Linked DNA regions of Homo sapiens: region 1 is linked to region 2. Evidence: promoter capture Hi-C in human tissues and cell types (Jung and others, 2019). All regions are on one chromosome and are shown on one strand. The core of a region is centred on a gene start or on the middle of the fragment in contact, and the rest is flanking DNA. Distances in the headings are between cores, read along the strand shown. Region 1 has its middle 56 kb from the start of PASD1. Region 2 holds the start of PRRG3 (proline rich and Gla domain 3).

Region 1 (4,340 bases), core at 1,782-4,281, 190 kb after region 2:
GGATCCCATCTTCCTTACCTCTGCATGCCTAGCCAGGAACAGGTCCAGGATCTGGCATAAAGTAGGGTCTCTATAATTGTATACTGACTATGTGAATGAATAGGTCAATGAATCGTTGCACATTTCCAGAATCATAAAACACAAACTTCTTAGCCAGGCTTTCTGGGTTGTCCTAATCTGGCCCCTGCATACTGTCCTACCAATGTTATCATCTTGTAGTCTTCTTCTCAAAACAAACTCTTCATTTTTGCCCAGCAGGCCTTCTCTCTTATCCTCCAAAGCATCCTGCATACTCTCACCTGCTCGCCTTGGCTGTGCTCTTGCCTTCTGCTCTGCTTATTTGAATGTTTTCTTCCATTATTCACAGGCACTTTACTCCCTGGATCTTTACCCAGCCACTCTGCTTGAACTGTCCAGACCTGTCTTCATACTTGGACATCTCCCTGGAGAAGAATAAGTCTATTTCCACGAGGCCAGGCAGAGAATCTTTAAATTTAACCTGGCTGGTGCATATGTCTTCACCTATGGTATAATAGTGACAGCAGTGTCAGATGCTGAGTCCTGTGGTGCATATCATTAAAAGATGTTCCTCCAGTCTGAAAGCAATTTTGGGGGGGAACAGATGTCGAACCAGCCTTCAAAATTATGCAGTCTTTAGTTTCTGAAATTTTCCTCTTTCTGCTTTTGAAAAATCAGGGTAACTTTTACTTCTTTGAAGTTCCATTCTTTGTGATTCTGCAAAGAAATTTCTTTTTCATTCAACACATATTTAATTACCACTACAAGCCAAGCAGTTACTGCTGTTACAAACAGTTTATATATATATGTATATATATATATTTTTGAGACGGAGTCTCTCTGTGTCGCCTAGGCTGGAGTGCAGTGGTGTGATCTCAGCTCACTGCAACTTCCGCCTCCCAGGTTCAAGCAATTCTTCCTGCCTCAGCCTCCAGAGTAGCTGGGGTTACAGGTGCCCGCCACCACGCCTGGCTAATTTTTGTATTTTTTTTTTTTTTTTTTTAGTAGAGATGGTGTTTCAACATGTTGGCCAGGCTGGTCTTGAACTCCTGACCTCAGGTGATCCACCCGCCACGGCCTCCCAAAGTGCTGGGATTACAGGCGTGAGCCATGGCACCCGGCCCAAACAGTGTATTTCTTAACATATCTAAAATCTTCTCAGGCCCTAGAAATGAATTGTGTTTGGACAAGGGTGCTTTTATTCCTTTAAAACTACTAGGTGCTCTCTTACTTTTGCCTCCTTAAACCTGAGTTGCAAACCCTTCTTTACTCTGGGGGTTGGTGGAGTATAGCCCTTCCTGGACTGGATGTCTCCTTGAGGCTCTGTTCTGTTTTGCAAATGAACACTTACTCTTCTTGTGACATGATGCATCCTTGGAATTTGACCACTGCAAACTTTCTGCATATGAAGGGTGAGCTGTCACTCCATCTGGGACGTCCCTGGGTTCTTTATAAGCACACTGCTATTGCAACAGTTAGCTGTGGCCTCAAAATGTCCCATTTTCTATTGAGCTGCTCTGATTTAACTTTTCAGGAAAGAAAAACCCTGTAATCTACTGCAGACAGCTGAGTTGGGCTGATACATGTGTTTTCTCAAAGGATACCTCTTTTAGCTCCACAAGAAGCAAACAGCTCACTCCAGAGTCCTAGAGCATTATACAATGCCTTGATCTGGGGGAGCCTTGAGGAAACCTTTGCTGGCAATAGCAATGACAATTGAGGTGAGACATCAATAGTGGCAGCCATTCTTCACAAATGTACAGTGCTTCACTGCTGACAAAGTGCTACAGGATATATCTTGTCTTATTTATTACATCAGTATTGTGTGGTAAGCAGGTGTTTGGTTAATACTGAGTGTCAACTTGATTGGATTGAAGGATACAAATTATTGATCCTGGATGTGTCTGTGAGGGTGTTGCCAAAAGAGATTAACATTTGAGTCAGTGGGCTGGGGAAGGCAGATCCACACTTAATCTGATGGGCACAATCTAATCAGCTGCCAGCGAATATAATGCAGGCAGAAAAACATGAAAAGGAGAAACTGGCCTAGCCTCTCCCAGCCTACATCTTTCTCCTGTGCTAGATGCTTCCAGCCCTCGAATATTGGACTCCAAGTTCTTCAGTTTTGGGACTCAGAGTGGCGCCCCTTGCTCTTCAACTTGCAGACAGCCTATTGTGGAACCTTGTGATCGTGGAAGTTAATACTTAATAAACTCCTGTATATATATGTGTGTGTGTGTGTGTGTGTGTGTGTGTGTGTGTGTGTGTGTGTGTGTATATATATATATATATATATATATATATATATATAGAGAGAGAGAGAGAGAGAGAGAGAGAGAGAGAGAGAGAGAACCCTGACTAGAGAACCCTCTAGTCCCTCTAGAGAACCCTGACTAACACAGCAGGACAAGAATTAGTATTGTCATAGAAGGAGACTGAGGTCCCAGAAGGCAAAAAGCTTGATTAGGATCACAAAACCAGTAAGTAGAAGAGCTCAAAGAAAAATCTAGATTTCAGGCCTCTGTGCCAGAGCTCAAATGGGGACTGTTTCCTATGATCTGTCTTCTGACTGAAATGGAACTGCAAGAGCCCTGACCACCTCAGGTGCCTGGCTAATGTAGTGGTAAATTCAAATAGTTTCTCTTGAGTTGTCTACCTTCAAGAGTAACATTTCTGCCTGTCCTCCAGGGTAGTCATTCACTTGTTCATTCACTCACTATGTGTATATTGAGCCTTTAGTATGTTCCAGGCACTAGAAATCCAGCAGAGAACAAAGCTAAACATGGTTGCTGACTTCCTAGAGCTTATAGCCTGGTAGAGGAGAGATCCAATGAACAGAAAATTACAAAAATAATGATAAATTTTGATAGTTGCTATCAAAGAAGAGTATAGGGTTCTATGAAACAGAATAAGAAGGGGGACTTCATCCAGTTTGGGAAGGTCAGAGAAGATTAAATCATCTCTGATTAAATCATATTCAACTCCTACTCTTAATGGATGGAGTAGGAGTTACCAAATGTTGGTTGAGGGTGGTGGGGTAGCAAATGGAACAGCATGAGTGAAGGCCCTGGGATAGGAAAGAACTTGGAGTATTACAGGAAAAAGACGAGACTTATGTGGCTGAAGTGGCGCAAGTGAAGGGGAAGTTGGAGAAAAATGAGCCTGCAGGGTGAACAGAAGCCAGATCACGAAAGCTGGGGAACAACCCCTTTTAAGCTTGCTTTGAATGTACTTGAGTAGGACCTAGACTCCTGAAGACCTTATGAATGCCTATGAATTTATTATTCAGCCTCTTCTCATTCATCTTAGATGCTCTGGGGCCACCTAGAGGCCAAAACACAGTGCCCAGTGGGGCAATTAAGGCTAAGAAAGGCAGAGCGTGTTCCCTACTGTGGAGACAGAGTGTTAGAGAGTTGCATGGGGCATTGACCTTGGCTGGCAGCTTTCTGGAAGCTAAGGCACAAAGGGAAATTTACTGGTTTTTGTGGTGGTTGTTTTCTGGCAACAAAAAAAATTAAAGCAAAAGCTGACTGATCAGCAGCCAAGGCCAATGAGTCCTGAAACTCAATTAAACTGAGAAGTCTTCACTTGGGACCTGCATGAGAGTGTACTATGACTTCAGCAAGTGCTGCCTCAAATGAATGGCAACTCTGCTTCTGCTCATGGCACCATCAAGCCTGGGAGAATGGACTATACCCTCCAGAAAGAGGGAGGTGGAGGCATTTCTGCCAGTTGGGAAGATAACAAGGTTCAGACAGTCTGTTCTCTGATGTCTGAGCTTAATGCAGCAGAATAAATAAGCACAACTTGATGAGGAGGGAGTTAATGTATTCATTAGCTTGCATTGCTCCACTGAAAGGTCTGAATACATTTGTAACAGGGCGGCATTGCAGGTACTTTCCAATTGATGCCCTTGAGAAGTGTTGATAATGTGGTACACAGTTGGGAACCCAAAGCACTTGAATAGATGAGTCCAATTTCTTCATCCCTGTATGAGAAAATAATCACCTTATTTTTACCCTCCAGGGATTGAGGGCGGAGCCTGTTAGAGGTGGTAACTTCAAACCCTGGACAAAGTCAGCTGGATGTCTGCAAAAATGGAAATCTTAAGGCTTTGTTAGAAAATGTTCTGGAATTCTGAGCAAACTATCGCAAGGACAGAAAACCAAACACCGCGTGTTCTCACTCATAGGTGGTAATTGAACAATGAGAACACTTGGACACAGGGCAGGGAATATCACACATTGGGGCCTGTCGTGGGGTGGGAGGCTGGGGGAGGGATAGCATTAGGAGAAATACCTAATGTAAATGACGAGTTAATG
Region 2 (4,529 bases), core at 283-2,782:
GAAAGAGAGAAAAGAAAGAAAAGAAAATTAAAGGTAAAACAGCAGATCTGACATCTATTTGTGGAAACGCCACATCAAGGGGCTTTCTCTTTTGAACCCTGCAACAATCTCCCTCAAAACTATCAACATGTGAATTTGTCAACAGATGGCCTGCCTTGTGAGACAGTTGGCCCTCAATGTTTGTCAGAACCAAGATGGAATATGATCTCAAAATTCTGCTTGCATTATGGATACCTGAGCTTTATGTGGTGAGGGTGTGGATATAGTATGCCTCATGGCAAGGATTTTTTGCTTGAAGAAAAATGGAGCTGTTGTATCTGGGTTTGAGAAGAATGCATATAGTCTTAATAAGGGAAGAGAGAAAAATATGCTTATCAAAGGAAACTGCAGTGGTTTTTTAAAAAAATGGAGAAAAATTTACATAATAGATTACATATATCCATCTTTTGTCCCCCACACACCTAGCCTTGGTCAAAGGTGGCTATATGTCACACCTATCATAGACCCGAATACATGTTATCCTGACGCACCTGCTAAAGTCACCAGTTCATTTTTAAGCTTCAGTCGAGCCAGGAACACCCCCAAAACAGTTCCCATGGCATGGCCCACTCCATTAGCAATTCTGTAGCCACCTTCACTGCTGCTGCTGCCTGCCACGAGGCCTCTTCCCCCTCCCTCCCCAAAATGTAGCGCCTGCTTCTTCCCCTATAAATACACCATCAGTAGACAGTTACTATGGCAACAATAAGGAAGCAATCGTGAGGGCTCCACGACAAAGAATGATGCTGCAGCCACACATGTATATGTCCCCCATGCCCCTGGTGGATACTGTAAAGCTGACTGTAGGCGGAAGGAATTTTTAACCCACTCCCCGCAGGAACACAGCTGAATCCTGACAGCCTGGAAAGGAAGGAAGGCAGGGAACTGGCCACCACAAAGACCTTGCTTAACTCCACCCCAGACTGAAGCTTCTGAATCTCAGGCCTCTGGGACACAACTCCCAAAGTCCCTCACATGAAGCCTGGTGACCACCAGAGCACCTGGTGTCCCAAGACATGGCCTCCAAACCACTTCTCCAAACCCTAGACTTTATTTCCATCCCTCAGAACTGATCGCCAGGAAAGGGTTCTCCAAATCGCATGACTCATCGACCCACCCAGTGACACGACAACTCCCAAATTATGCTCAAACTCAAACTCTGGGGCCCCCTTGTCCCTTTCCACTCAGGCCAGCCCTGAAAGTGCCTGTCCTCGCCCACCTTCGCTGGACACCAGCGCCCTGACCCAGCAACACTCTTCTCCCGGAGCTGTTCAATACGCCCCATCCCCTTGGCCCGGACAGGCCTCTAGATCTTCCCTCCTCAACAATGCCCTGCACCCAGCTCGTTGGCCCTGGATACCGAACCGTGCCCTCGGGACTGGGACACCCAACCCAAATGGCCTCACCGTTCTCCGGGCCCAGAAGGCGGCCGCCCTGTTTGCGCACGCAGCCCGCCACCTCGCTGCTGCGCCTCTTCCAGCAGGGGCCCTGTCCCCGCCCACCTGCTCCCCGTCGGCCAAGCCCCCCGGTCCGGCCCAGCCGTCTCCTCCCTCCCTTCCTCCCCTCCCCGCTGCCCTCCCACCGCCCCGGGCACCCTGTCGCCCGCCCCTCCAGGGCCGAAGTGCGCCTGGAACCCCCGCCCCTCGCAGCCGGGCGCCCAGGCCCGGCCCATTACCTCGGCACCCCCCTGCCTGCCCCTGCTTTCCTCTGGGGGCTCCGCAGCTGCCCGCCCCCCACACCCCGCCGTTCCAGGGCTGGCCTCGCGCCCCGCGCCTCGCGCGCCACGACCGCAGTGCCCCGATCGCCAGGCCGCAATCGTCGCGCTGCCCCGCGCACCGGGCCGCCGGCCGCCTGGCCGAGTGGAGGAAGGAGGGGTGGGGGCGACGGAGTGGGCCGAGGGGGTTGGGAGAGCGGGCGGGCAAGCCGGGCCGGAGGGGCGGCGGCGCGCACCGAGCACCGCGCGCCCGCGCCCCACTCTGCCGGCGCCGCCCCTGCCCCCGCCCGTGCCGCCGGGGGGCGGGGCCTGACTGGCGGGCCTGGGGCACACAGAGGACCCTTGGTCAAAGCCCTGGTCCAGTCGTGACCCAAGGCGTGGGCCCTCGGAAGATACGGCGTAGCAGGGAGCTCCGGCGGCCGCTCCCAAGGCCCGCGCGCCAGGCGTCCCTGCGCAGCCCAACCCGCGTCCTGTCCCCACCCCCCGGGCTCACCTGCCATTCAGGCCCGCCGGGCTCCTGGGGCCAACGAAAAGAGAGGGGGGCTAGCCTGCAACCTAGGCCTGCCTTGCCAGGGATCCACAGGGCCCTCAGAAGAAGGACCGAGTCGAGGCCGCGTTCCGCCAATGACTGGGTGACCTTGGCTTCTTCACTTACCTACCCCCACCCTGCCCCGGGAAGGCAGGCTTCTCTCCTGCAAAGTCCGAGAAATGGGGAGAATTCTGCCTCCCTCGCGAGGCTGCAGCGATTTGAAGGAGGAAATGGGTTTGGAAAACTCTAAGGCTCAGTAAGGGGAGAAGGAATCTTCTGCGACTGCAAGGAGCGCTAGATGGGGGCTCCTTCGGAGGCCGCACTGTGAGAAGTTCAGCATGGCAGGACAAGACGCATAGCAGAGATTACACTAGTCCAGGAGGAACCACATGACAGGTCCACTGCTAAGAGAGGGGCAAAGGGGTTCCGGGTGGGCTGAGGTTCTGGGTCTAGGAAAGCCTCCCTCGGAGAAGGGGATGCTGGGTTTTTAGGGTTCCTTTTTGTTCTCTGCACATCTAGAACCCGGCCAGGCACTGGGGTTGGCGTCCTCTTCCTCCCTCCACCCCAAGTGTTGCTTTTGATGGGAATGAGTCTCAGAAGGCGGTTCCAGAACCACTCCCACCCCTATCCCAGGGCGGGTATTAGCAACCTGCCTTGCCAGGGGGCGGAAGAGGGGTGGGCGAAGGCCTTCATTGCCACCGGCCGCCTCCCCTCCAACCCCCAGGGCCTGGCTCCCCTAGCTCCCCCGATGCCTGCCTCTACACTTCTCTCCCCGCATGGTGCTTTCCCTTCCATTTCTGCCTCCTGTTAGAGTTCTTCCCTAGCTTGCTTGCTATTTCACGGCTGCAGGAATCTTCCTTACCCACGACAGCTCTTCTATGGCCTTCCCCCCATGCCTCCGGAGCCTGTGGGGCAGAATTCCACAGACTCTTCTGGAACTAACCTCTTGAGTTTCCTAGCCCACCAGCATGTTCCCATCGTGATCTTAACACCGCATAGACCCTTGTGCACTTGACTGTTAAAAAAGCAGCTCTTCCAGTATGTGCACAAGGGTCTATGGCTTCTGCCCTCCTTCTGGCACTCCCACTTTAGCTTCTGGCTCCAGCCACATGAGGCTACTTCTACTTCCCACTGCCCAGAATGCCTTTCCTCCCACTGTGGACCTGGAGCACTTGCATTCATTCTTCCCACACAGTGCGCATGACATCTCTACTGTGAGGTCTTGCAGGATCCTTCCTGCACCCCAGTCCGCCATTCCACTCTCAGGACTATCTGCAGAGACTATGAACATGGGGGCCTCGGTGGATAGCAAGGTGGGGGAGGAGGAATAGCAGTGCCTCTGGAGCGTAGTGCCTGCTGCACCTCTTGGTGGTACTACATAGTAGGCTCTATTATCTCCAGCAAGTGTTTGACCTCTCTGCATCTCGGTTTCCTTACCTTTCAGATGAGAATGATGCTAACAGTGCCTGCCTCAAAGCGTTGCTAAGCGGGTAGTGGAGCTAATCACATAGAATGTGCCTGGCGCTTAAGTGTGAGCTTAATGCACATCAGCTGGCCTGCATCCAGCTACCTTGTGTTCATTTGGTAGCTCACTTACGTGCACACTTGCCTCCTCTCTTGGGGCCAGGGACCTTGTCTCTTCCTGTGTCCCTACCATCTCGCACAGAACCTCATCCACAGCTGGTGCTCTCTAGAGACTTGTCAAGCTGAGGCTGGAGGGGCTGGGGCTGAGAAGGCCTCCATTGCCTTCTTACCTGCCCCCATTTCTGTTCCGGCAGAGCCGGAATTGTGGGTGTATGACCCATGGAGTCAGACAGGGCCCTGTGCTTAAGAGGGCTCTGGACACCTGGCTCAAGGCTGTGCTATCACCATCTTGAAATTCTAATGCTTTTTGAACAAGAGGCCTTCATTTTCACTTTCACTGGGTCCCACGAAGTATGTAAGCCATCGTGCCTATGGGTGGCATTTCCAATATCCCCGATCCTATCCCAGGTAACAGAATTCTCAGTCACCCACCACTTGTGATTCCTCACCTTCTCCCCTCTGCAAGCCTTGACCAGTTGCCTCTTTCCTCATGTCTCATCACCACCAATTCCATTACCTTCCTCCACATTGCCCCTCCCCAGCCCCATCCCTGTGCCTCACCCTTTGGCTAAGAGGAGCACTCTCTGACAACCTCATTTACTCCCAGAGTTTCACTCTTTCCCCAACACTCATCCATTCCAGAATTGAATGGATAACTTTATC

What was found. The method cuts DNA at HindIII sites, captures the fragments that hold promoters and counts their contacts. A contact is called where the count stands out against the background at its distance.
Region 1: a fragment that was not itself captured here is called in contact with the fragment with the promoter of PRRG3 in region 2 in 2 of the 25 tissues and cell types used here (liver and mesendoderm cells).

The regions. Positions count from the first base shown.
Region 1 is chrX:151,505,014-151,509,353 of GRCh38, reverse strand. No RefSeq gene overlaps it. Among named protein-coding and RNA genes, the nearest start is that of PASD1, 56 kb to the left of the region's middle. The HindIII fragment of the contact is 4,683 bases long and covers 690-4,340 here.
Region 2 is chrX:151,692,461-151,696,989 of GRCh38, reverse strand. PRRG3 (proline rich and Gla domain 3) reads right to left here and starts at 1,532. Exons shown (of 4, transcript NM_001372163.1): 1 at 1,446-1,532. The HindIII fragment of the contact is 8,484 bases long and covers 764-4,529 here.